3 separate regions of the Homo sapiens genome follow, and all the other regions are linked to region 1. Evidence: promoter capture Hi-C in human tissues and cell types (Jung and others, 2019). All regions are on one chromosome and are shown on one strand. Each heading gives the region's core, a stretch centred on a gene start or on the middle of the fragment in contact. The rest is flanking DNA. Distances are from core to core; before and after follow the strand shown. Region 1 holds the start of SERTAD4 (SERTA domain containing 4). Region 2 overlaps HHAT (hedgehog acyltransferase). Region 3 overlaps SYT14 (synaptotagmin 14).

Region 1 (3,571 bases), core at 250-2,749:
ACCCTGGAATGTCTTTTGGAAAAAATGAAATAATGCTCTTGGTAGGCTGTTGGGTTCATCTGTTTTAAGCATAATTGCCATCTCTCAGCTTCCTAATACCCTTAAAACCTCTGAGAGTCTTTAATGTACAAAGTTCAACAAAAACACCTTCAAAACAAATTAGTTCTAATTATGTTTAATATTGGTTTGCTGCTTTATTGAATAATCTACATTTGCTTTTAAAAAAAGGAAATTCACTTAACTGCATGTCAGTCACCCAAGTTTTAAGTGTACAAATGAAATGGAAAACATTTATTACACAAATTTAATTACAATTCTAAGAAATAAACATGCAAATTAGATAGAGTTCAATTTGCAGATGCTAATCCTCATCCTTGATCTTGTTCCTTCCTCCCTTGATTTTCAGTCTGTGCGTCTTCTTGATTCCTAGGGAGCCAGGCAGCCAGAGGTCTGGTTTTTCACAGTCGGAGGATCACTGTTTTAAAGAAGTGTTATATTTAGCACATCTGGTATAGTGGCAGTAAACAAACATTATAGTCTTTGTAACACTTTTGTGCAGGTGCCTTCTCCCGATTTTATTAGGTCTATGCCTTCCAAGCCTCTGCCTTCATTACACCTGAAATGACCCATCTCGACTATGGAGGGGTCCCTAGACAGAAGTTATGAATTAATGATTTTAAAAAATAAACTCTGAGGCCACTATAGGAGAAAATTACTATTTGCAAAATATTCTGATTCCAAGGCTTAAATTACATTCTCTTGAGCAAGGACAATCTCTTGTATTACTTTTTATTTCCTGGAGGTTTTCCCTGGAGGCTCCCCACCCAGAAAGGGTTGCCAATTCAAGTTGCAGCAGGACCAAGGTTGCTTTTTTTTTTTTTTTTAATACGTACGCAGCTCAGGAGGGAAACGGGCGGGGGCGGGCGGCGAGGGAGAATAACTGTTTGGTCCTGCAAAGACATCTGTTTCTCATCTCCGTTTGCTGTGGCAAAGGAGAAGAAAGTCTTTTGCAAAGGGTGGGAAAGGCACAGATTTTTTTTTTAATCACACGCACACACAACAACAACAAAACTAAACCAAATTTAAAAAGACAAGATATCTCGGAAGGTTCCAGAGTGAATACATTATTCGGCTGGAGCCAAGCCCCCAGGGCTAGGGCGGGAGCCCGAGAGCGCGTGGGGTCTGGGCTGCGGGCTGGAGCTGGGCCCGCGTGTCCCCGGGCACCGGGAGGGGAGGGGAGGAAAAGGAGGAGGGAGGGCGGGAAGCAGGGAAGGAGGCAGGGGGCGGGCTGGGGTGGGGGTGCGGGAAAGGCGCCCCGTGTGCAGCCTGAGGAGCGGCGGCGGCGGCCTGAGCAGAGGGAGGGAGGGAGAGCGGGCGCGCTTGTCATGTTCCCTCTCTCACCCTGGGGGCATCCTGCAGAACCTCTCCTCGGAAATCCACGGGGAAATGGCAAACAGGATTGACGGGTTTCACACGCTCCTCGCTAGACAGAGCCGCTCATTACCATAACCGTCTGCAGCGACGGCGGCGCAGCGCCCCAGTCGCGGCGGCGGGACCTGCCGGGACCCTTGCCCGCCGCGCACCCGCAGTCACCGCCGAGCGGGCGGCCGGGCCGGGACCCGCGAGTGTGCACCGGCGGCCGGGCTGGCGCCGAGCCCAGAGCGGACCAGCAGCAGCTCAAGCGCTGCGGCCGCCGCCTCCCCGCTGACCCCGCGGTAAGAGCCGGGCTGGGCGCGGGCCGCGGGGGCGGGAGGGCCGGGCAGGGTGGAGGGCGAGGGCCCCCCGGGGCTCCTGCCCTCGCAGACGGGCACCCACGCGGCCTCCCGCGCGCCCTCTTGGCACCAGGGCTGTGCCGAGGTCACCGAGTGGACTCGCAGCGGCCGGAGCGGAGTCGGGGCGGCGTGGGGGCCAAGGCACAGCTGGGCGCGGAGGCGGCGCGGGCTTTTCCCTGGGCTAGCGTGCGCCGCGGCGCCTTCACCAGGGCGGGAACCGCCGCCTCCTCTAGGGCTGCTCGGGCTGCCACCCGCGCGCACCGAGACAACTCCAGGGGCGGGTGGGGTCAGAAGCTCTGGTGAGACCTCATGGTCCTCCGTGGCCGCTTAGTCCCTCATCGTAGGGGAAGGGGTTAAGTAGGAGGGGTGCCCCCAGGTCCGGATGCCGCGGCGCTTGGCAGGTGGGGAGAGAGGGATTGTGGATGTCAGGAGCGCGCGTTTGCAAGAAAAAGGAATTGATGCAGTAGCTGACACCTTCTGTCCCCCGCCACCTCCGCCCCCGCACCCTCCTCCCAGGCAGCAGAGCTGCGCTGCGGGCGGCGGCGGCTCCTCTGTCCTCAGCTCACCTCCTCGGCGGGCTGAGGCTGCTGCCCGCCTGGTCCACGCCTCCGCCTCTCGCTTCCCTTCCTCCCCTCCCGCCTCTTCGGCCCTAGCAACTTTCCGAGTGCCCAGCTGTGGTCGCAGAAGCAGGGAATAGGCGTCCTCGCCGCCAGGTCCCACGGGCGCAGGGCGCTCCCGCAACCGCGGGCTTCCAGCGGGTTTGGCCGGCAAGGGAGGGAGGGAAGGCCGGGCCGACATCTGCTGCGGGCTGGAGCGCGGGGGCCCGGGCCAGCCCCGCCAGAGCCCTGCCAGCCGCTGTGAGTCATTTCCTTGGAATCCTACCTTTGGTGTTTATTTCCCTTAGAAGGAAACTTGGTTTTTTTTTTAAAAAAAAAAAAGGATAAGACATAAAGAATAATAATAGCTCTTATTCTTCAGAAGAGGCACACGGCTGCGGCACCGTAGAAAGACAACTTGCCTTTGTTCCCGGACACTTGGGGTGTTGTTTACTTTCTCCTGCGGCCAGCGGCCGACCGGGCGCTGCTGGCTACCCGGGGAGGGGCTGAGGGCTGCGGCACCGACACCCCGGGGGTGTGTCTGTGCGGGAGCCAGGATGTGGTTGGTGGCTGCCGCCCGCCTTCAAGAGGTCGGCCCTCCAAACCTCGGACCCCACCCCCGCAACCGCCACACACACACACACCTTGGGCACCAGGGCTCGGGCATCGGAGCACCCCTTCGTGCTCTTTAGGCCCAGCACCTGCAGCCCCAACCACAGGACCCAGCTTCAAGCTCTTGGCCTCGCGGGGCTGCAGCTGAGAAATGTACTTCCCAGGGCAGACAGGTGTACTGCAGGAACGGCAGAAAAGCGACATCTGTTTGTTTAGAAGGGTTGAAGAATTTTGTTCCGCCCATCCAGTCCCTTCCACTACCACCACCAGGAGCCGGACAAGCTATTGAGATCATTTTGGGACAATGTGGAGGTCAGGGGCTTGATGCCATTTAAAACTGGCAGCATCGATCGGGGGTGGAAATAGCCCTTTACTTCCCTGCTTTCCAGTGCTGGAATCAGACTGCTAACTGCTATAATGATCTTAATCAAATGCTCTCCAATTTTCAATGACAGATGGAAGAAGAAGTGAGCAAAGAATGACCTGGAGCCCCTTGTTAGATTCAAGGTGCCGCTGAATTCATAGCTACCCTGTTTTGTGTGCCAGCCACTCCTATTAGCATCATAATTGCTTCTAGGAAAGAACAAGCCC
Region 2 (3,525 bases), core at 436-2,935, 110 kb after region 1:
CTGGGGGAGAAGGGAGGTGACTTGTGTGAGCTGGCGCCAAATGCCAGACATGTGCATGAGGTCATCATGGCCCCCTCCAGCCCCAGTGGAGTTGTGTGGTGACAGAAGTCACATGAGTGACCTCAGGAGGGACATGAACAGAACTGTCCAGACTGCCATCCCACAAAATCCTTAAAAAGAATAAATGTTCATTGTTCTAAGGCATCACATGTTGTGATGGTTTCTTATGCAGCAATACATAACTAATACATAATATGTTGGTGCGGATGTGGAAGTAGTGGGTATATATTTTAAACTATTCTGTAATTAGACTTTTTTCCCCACTCCAGTGCACCTCTTCCAGTCTATCTAGTCATTCTTCTGTGTTGGTGAAACCTTTCTGGGTTTGGAGAAGTGTTTCCTCTTAGTATTATGTGGGTTGAAGAATAAGTCTTTGTAAGACTCTTAAATGGGGACTGGGCACAGTGGCCCACACCTGTAATTCCAGCAGTTTGGGAGGCTGCGGCGGGAGGATCACTCGAGGCCAGGAGTTCAAGACCAGCCTGGGCAACATGGCAAAACCCAGTCTCTACTAAAAACACAAAAATTAGTGGGGCAGCACACTCCGGCCTGGGGGATAGAGCAAGACTCTGTCTCAGAAAAAAAAAAAAAAAAAAAAAAAAAAGACTCAAGTGGGGTTTGGAGAGAATTGTGATATGGGAATCTGGACTTGGTGGTTTTCTTGGAGAAAATCATGTAATTTAGAGTCTACAAAATGGGATTCAGTTTCATGAAAATTGGACCCTGGAAAAGGCAAAAGTCTCATACCACTTTTTCCGAATATGCTAGAATATTGCACTACTATTTCATTTTCTTTAAAGCCGTTGTCATTTCAGTGGGCATGTGCTTCTTTCACTTTTATTGCTTGTGGTTTCCAGAGTGCTCATTTGTTCCTGAATTTAGAGCTATTTCAATTTTACTCTTATCTCTGCATAACTGCTGACTTTCCCCTCTTATTTCCAAGGTAAATCGGTTAGGTTTAGTTTGCCTTTTTCAGTAAATCTTTTAAGGAATGTATGTGAGTTAGATATTTCATGTGTATTTTGATTACATTTTATTGATTTAAATTTTTTTATCAGAGAGTGTCTAACGTTATGCATAACGTTTAAAAATTCTATTACATTTAGACCACTTATATTCTAGCTTTCCTAATGGATTGATTTCATTATAGATTTTGGAAAAAATGAGTCCAGTACACTCTGTAAGAATAGTGAGGTGGCTGAGGGAAGGCTCTGGAGTTAGACTTACTGGGTATGAATCTAAGCTTTGCTGCTTACCAGCTGTGTGATTTGGGGCGGGTTTACTTATCCTTTCTGGGCCTTGGTTTCCTCTTGTGTTAAGTGAGGTTATCAGAAGCACCAACCTCAAAGGTTTGTTATGAAGATTAAGTGAGATAATACTTGTAAAGTGCCTTTTCAGCATAGGAAATCTGTAAATAGTACTTGTTATAGTACAGCTATTACTAAAGCATAAGAAAACTCAGTAGAGGGAAATCTTCATTTAGGACATTAAGCAGTGAGTCAGTAGAAGTGACGATGGTGATGCTGGTATGGAGGGATTGTTAGCTTAATGATGAGAGCTGTCTTGTTAAAGTTCTCTGGTGCATGTGAGTATTGGGTTATAGCCCATTTAGTGCTTGATATCAAGATTTAAAAGCAGAAAAAATTTAAAATGGAAGTGTTGGAATCCATTAGTTGCCTGCATCAGAAGTAAAGCTAAAGTATTTTTGAAATGATATTGGAAGTTGCTGGGGGAAAAGCATCTTGCAGCCGTTATGTTTATGTATGTTTCAGGCTTTGGCAAGGTGTGCTGTACTTTTCTTCCAAGATCAAGGAACAGGATTTCTGCCTGTATGACAGTGGGGGTTGGGAATTTTGGTTCTAATTTTTGCTCCATTGCTGGCTTCTCTGTCCGTGGGTAGATCGCTGCTTCTTCCTGAGCAGGATTCTGATTCCTGAAAGGGACCTAAAAACTTAGCCCTCCTGAGAGGATCCGAGTAGATGGCATCTTTGAAAGCAGGTGGAGTGTTAAATTCCAAAGTAAATGCAAATGCAAGTGGCTCCAGTATAGAAAAAGTTCTGTGAGCTGAGAGATTCTTGCCATTTTACAGCTAAGATTTTATTCTGTGGCCCTCTTGAGTTCTATAATTCCCAGATAAATATATTTTTTGAAATATTCAACCTTGGGGTGTTTGTACCCAATTTGGAGGTGGAGAAAGCTCCCTATTCCTCCAGTCTGAATTCCTTCCCTCTGATTCCAGGGAAAACTTTGCTATGATTTCCTTTAACATCTAGTATTAAATGCACGTTCTACCGCTTTGTCCTCACTTGCCTCAAAATTCTCACTCTTTTCAACAACATTTAGCTTCAAGATCCTGTTGTCTTACAGCTTTGGAGTTGCTGTTTTATCTTCTTCATCTTCCTCTTTTTTCCCCCTACCAGCTTCTGGACTATTTTGATGCCAAGGACAACTCAATTTTTCCCCATCTGTGTGGCTTGGTTCCAGCACTCTCTCCACTTTCACTAAGGGCCTAAATCATCAACCTCCCTGCCTCTTGGGTCTACCACAGCATCAAGGGGCTGCTTTGTAGAGCTTCATTCAAATAATTTTATGTACTGGCTTGCAAGCCTGAGGTTTCTGCAGGAAATAAAATTTAAACATGAAATCGTATGTTTTAAGACTCCTTACCACTTGGCTCCTGTTCTCCCTTCCCTGAACCATCCACACTTTATCTTCTTTACAGTTCCGACCAGTATTCCCACACTGGGGAAGTGTTCTTAGACACATCTCACCATCACACATCCCTACAACCCTCCTTCACTATTACATATCAATAGTGCAATCTCATTTGTGTAGATTAATCAGGTAGACTGCTACTTAAACACAGGCTGTGTCCCTATAGATTGGCCGTTTTCTATAGAAATGATGCTGTAAGTGGTGATGACTTTTCTAGGCTATCTCACAGCTACCCACTTAGCTGATAATGTTGGTGCAGGACTGACTGCATGAAAACAGAAAAGAAACATCACTTACACATTTGAGTAAGAACCTCCTTGATTTCAGCCTGATTGCTCTGCCTAAAGAGGGACATGCTTGTTTAGAGTATGAGAAATGGAAACTTGGTAATTTTGTGAGAGAGTTTTTGGGAACCTCTAAGGGCCTGGACATTTTAAAAAGGTTCCAGTTATATTCCCAAATATATAGTTTTCCTTTTCTTTTACATTGTGTCATAAATCCCTTAAGACATATCTACTCTGATTTACTTTCTGGCTGCACAGCTGAAATAAACAGGGAAAACAAAGTAGGGAAATAATTTTCCTAAGATAAGTGGGCGAGTGTTGAAGGCCGAAAGAATGAGGGTCGTGATCAACTCAGTATACCACTGGAGACTATATGAGTAAACAGCAAACTGTTTCTCATGAAAGCAGGTTGTTGGCAAACTGACAAACTGTGTCTGCCTCCCAGAAAGAATGCTGGGGGGCAGTC
Region 3 (3,206 bases), core at 131-2,630, 120 kb before region 1:
GGGTTGTGGAGGGGTTGTGGAGGGAGGTACTGAGGATAGGAGAGTATATGGGTTTGGCACCATGAGGTGGATAGGCAAAACAATTTAGTTGATAAGGCACAGATCCTGAACTAACTTGTAAGACTTGTCCGGTTTTTGGACAGGTAAAATGGGTGAATTGTAAGGAGAGTTTATAGGCTTTAAAAGGCCATGCTGTAACAGGCAAGTGATAACAGGCTTTAATCCTTTTAAAGCATACTGTGGGATGGGATATTGGTGTTGAGCGGGGTAAGGGTGATTAGGTTTTAATGAGATGGTAAGGGGTGCATGATCGGTTGCTAAGGAGGGAGTAGAGGTGTCCCATACTTGTGGATTAAGGTGGGGAGATAGAAGGGGAGGATGTGAAGGAAGCTTTGAACTGGGGAAAAGGGTGGCAATGAGGTGTGGCTGTAGCCTAGGAATAGTCAGGGAAGCAGATAATTTAGTTGAAATGTCTCCACCTAATAAGGGAGCTGGGCAGGTGGGGATAACTAAAAAGGAGCGCATAAAAGAATGTTGTCCAAGTTGGCACCAGAGTTGGGGAGTTTTAAGAGGTTTAGAAGCCTGGCCATCAATACCCACAACAGTTATGGAGGCAAAGAAAATAGGCCCTTGAAAAGAAAGTAATGTGGAGTTGGTAGCCTCCACATTGATTAAGAAGGGGACGGACTTACCTTCCACTGTAAGAGTTACTGAAAGAGTCTGTGTTGGTCCAGGAGGCTTCTGAGGCAATCGGGCAGTGTCAGTCTTCAGCCGCTATGCCGAGAAGATCTGGGAAGGAGTCAGTCAGAGAGCCTTGGGCTAGAGTTCCAGGGACTCTGGGAGTGGCTGCCAGGCAAGCTGGACAGTCCGATTTCCAGTGGGGTCCCTCACAGATGGGACATGGTTTAGGAGGAATCCCGGGCTGCAGGCATTCCTTGGCCCAGTGGCCAGATTTCCAGCACTTAAAGCAAGATCCTGGGGGAGGAGGTCCTGAAGGAACGCCTGACCACTGTGGCTTAGGTGTTTTGAAGTTCTTGTGTGCTGGAGATGTGGCTGGGGTTCCTCTCACAGCAGAGGCAGGTAATTGCAACTCTTCTCTATTATTGTACACCTTGAAGGCGAGGTTAATCAAGTCCTGTTGTGGGGTTTGAGGGCTGGAATTTAATTTTTGGAGCTTTATTTAATATTGGGAGCAGATTGGGTAATAAAATGCATATTGAGAATAAGATGGCCTTCTGACCCTTCAGGGTCTGGGGCTGTAAAGCATCTAAGGGTTGTTGCCAAACGGGCCATGAACTGGGCTGAGTTTTTATATTTGATAAAAAGGAGCCTAAACGCTAACTGATATGGGAGAGGTCGGATAAAGAAAAAGGAGCATTAACCTTGACTGTGCCTTTAGCTCCAGCCACCTCTTTAAGATGAAATTGTTGGGCAGGTCAGGGAGGGCTAGTCATGGAACAAAACTGTAAACTGGACCAGGTGTGAGGAGGGGAGGTGATAAAAGGATTATAGGGTGGGGGAGCAGAGAATGAGGAAGAATTGGGACCTGGCTCGGCCTAGCAAGGAGCAGCCTGGGGAGGAGGGGAGAGGTCAGATGGGTCCATAGAAAAGGAAGATTGGAAAGACTTAGCAATGCTTAGGGTTGGGACTGAGGGGACAGGCAGGAGGGAAAGAAGGAATATTTGGGACGAGTTGCATTGGGAACAGAGACTAGGGAGGGACTGATGTGTAAAAGAATGCCTGGACATCAGGCATCTCAGACCATTTGCCCATTTTACGACAAGAATTATCTAGATCTTGTAGGATGGAAAAATCGAAAGTGCCATTTTCTGGCTATTTGGAACCATTGTCGAGTTTGTATTGGGGTTAAGCAGCATTGCAGAACAAAATAAGGCATTTAGGTTTTAGGTCAGGTGTGAGTTGAAGAGGTTTTAAGTTCTTGAGAACACAGGCTAAGGGAGAAGAAGGAGGAATGGAGGGTGGAAGGTTGTCTATAGTGAAGGATGCAAGCCCAGAGAAAAGAGAGGGTAGAGACACAGAGAGAAGGGTTGGGGGGTGCTTGCCCCCCAGGAAAGTGGTGCTTGCCACTAAGGGTGAAGGATCAAGGCAGGCATCCCTGCAGTGATCAGACACCTCTGAAACATGGGTGAATAATCAAGCAGGCGTCCCCGCAGTGATTAAACACCAAGGGAAGACTGTCTTCCAGAGTCCGTTACCAGCACCGGAGTTTTGGGTTCATGGATAAAATGTGTCTTCTCTGTCTCTACCAGAAAAGGAAAGGAACTGAAATTAAGAGAAGGGAGAGATTGAAGGATGGCGGCAAGGTTGAAAGGAGAAAGAGGTTGAGGGATAGTGAGAGAGGTTGGAGAAGAGAGTAAAAAGAGGCCACTTACCCGATTTAAAATTGGTGAGATGTTCCTTGGGCTGGTTGGTCTGAGGACCCGAGGTCGTAGGTGGATCTTTCTCATGGAGCAAAGAGCAGGAGGACAAGGGATTGATCTCCCAAGGGAGGTCTCCCAGTCTGAGTCACGGCACCAAATTTCATGTGCATCTGTGTGAAGAGACCACCAGGCTTTGTGTGAGCAATAAAGCTTTTTAATCATCTGGGTGCAGGCAGGCTGAGTCCGAAAAGAGAGTCAGCGAAGAGAGGTAGGGGTGGGCCGTTTTATAGGATTTGGGTGGGTAGTGGAAAATTATAGTCAATAGGGGTTGTTCTCTGGTGAGCAGGGGCGGGGGTCACAAGGTGCTCAGTGGGGGAGCTTCTGAGCCAGGAGAAGGAATTTCACAAGGTAATGTCATCAGTTAAGGCAGGAACCAGCCATTTTCACTTCTTTTGTCATTCTTCAGTTACTTCAGGCCATCTGGATGTATATGTGCAGGCTTGGGCCCAGAGGCCTGACACTAATTATTGCTGTATAAATGTTGAATGAATGGATGGGTGAATAAGTTCATAGGGTATGTATATTATCTCTGAGTTTATTGCCTGTAGTTTCATTTTTGCAGCTAATCTTATATTATTGAACTTGTTTTGTTTTTGTTTTGTTTTGTTTTGAGATAGAGTCTCACTCTGTTTCCACGCTGGAGTGCAGTGGCACAATCTCAGCTCACTGCAACCTCCACTTCCCAGGTTCCTGGTTTCAAGTGATTTTCCTGCCTCAGCCTCCCAAGTTGCCAGGACCATAGGCATGCGCCACCATGTCCGGCTA

The links. Contacts are between HindIII fragments. The study calls those that stand out against the background at their distance.
Region 2: a contact is called between a fragment that was not itself captured here and the fragment with the promoter of SERTAD4 in region 1, in 2 of the 25 tissues and cell types used here (aorta and hippocampus).
Region 3: a fragment that was not itself captured here is called in contact with the fragment with the promoter of SERTAD4 in region 1 in 2 of the 25 tissues and cell types used here (aorta and hippocampus).

Annotation. Positions count from the first base shown.
Region 1 is chr1:210,231,297-210,234,867 of GRCh38, forward strand. It overlaps SERTAD4 (SERTA domain containing 4), which reads left to right and starts at 1,500. Exons shown (of 4, transcript NM_019605.5): 1 at 1,500-1,715. It overlaps SERTAD4-AS1 (SERTAD4 antisense RNA 1), which reads right to left and starts at 2,589. Exons shown (of 2, transcript NR_024337.2): 1 at 2,339-2,589; 2 at 160-475. RefSeq lists an enhancer at 1,378-1,911. The HindIII fragment of the contact is 6,882 bases long and covers 1-3,571 here.
Region 2 is chr1:210,339,605-210,343,129 of GRCh38, forward strand. The region is part of intron 1 of HHAT (hedgehog acyltransferase); the gene reads left to right. Among named protein-coding and RNA genes, the nearest start is that of HHAT, 12 kb to the left of the region's middle. The HindIII fragment of the contact is 7,127 bases long and covers 1-3,525 here.
Region 3 is chr1:210,113,307-210,116,512 of GRCh38, forward strand. The region is part of intron 6 of SYT14 (synaptotagmin 14); the gene reads left to right. Among named protein-coding and RNA genes, the nearest start is that of SERTAD4, 120 kb to the right of the region's middle. The HindIII fragment of the contact is 4,534 bases long and covers 1-3,206 here.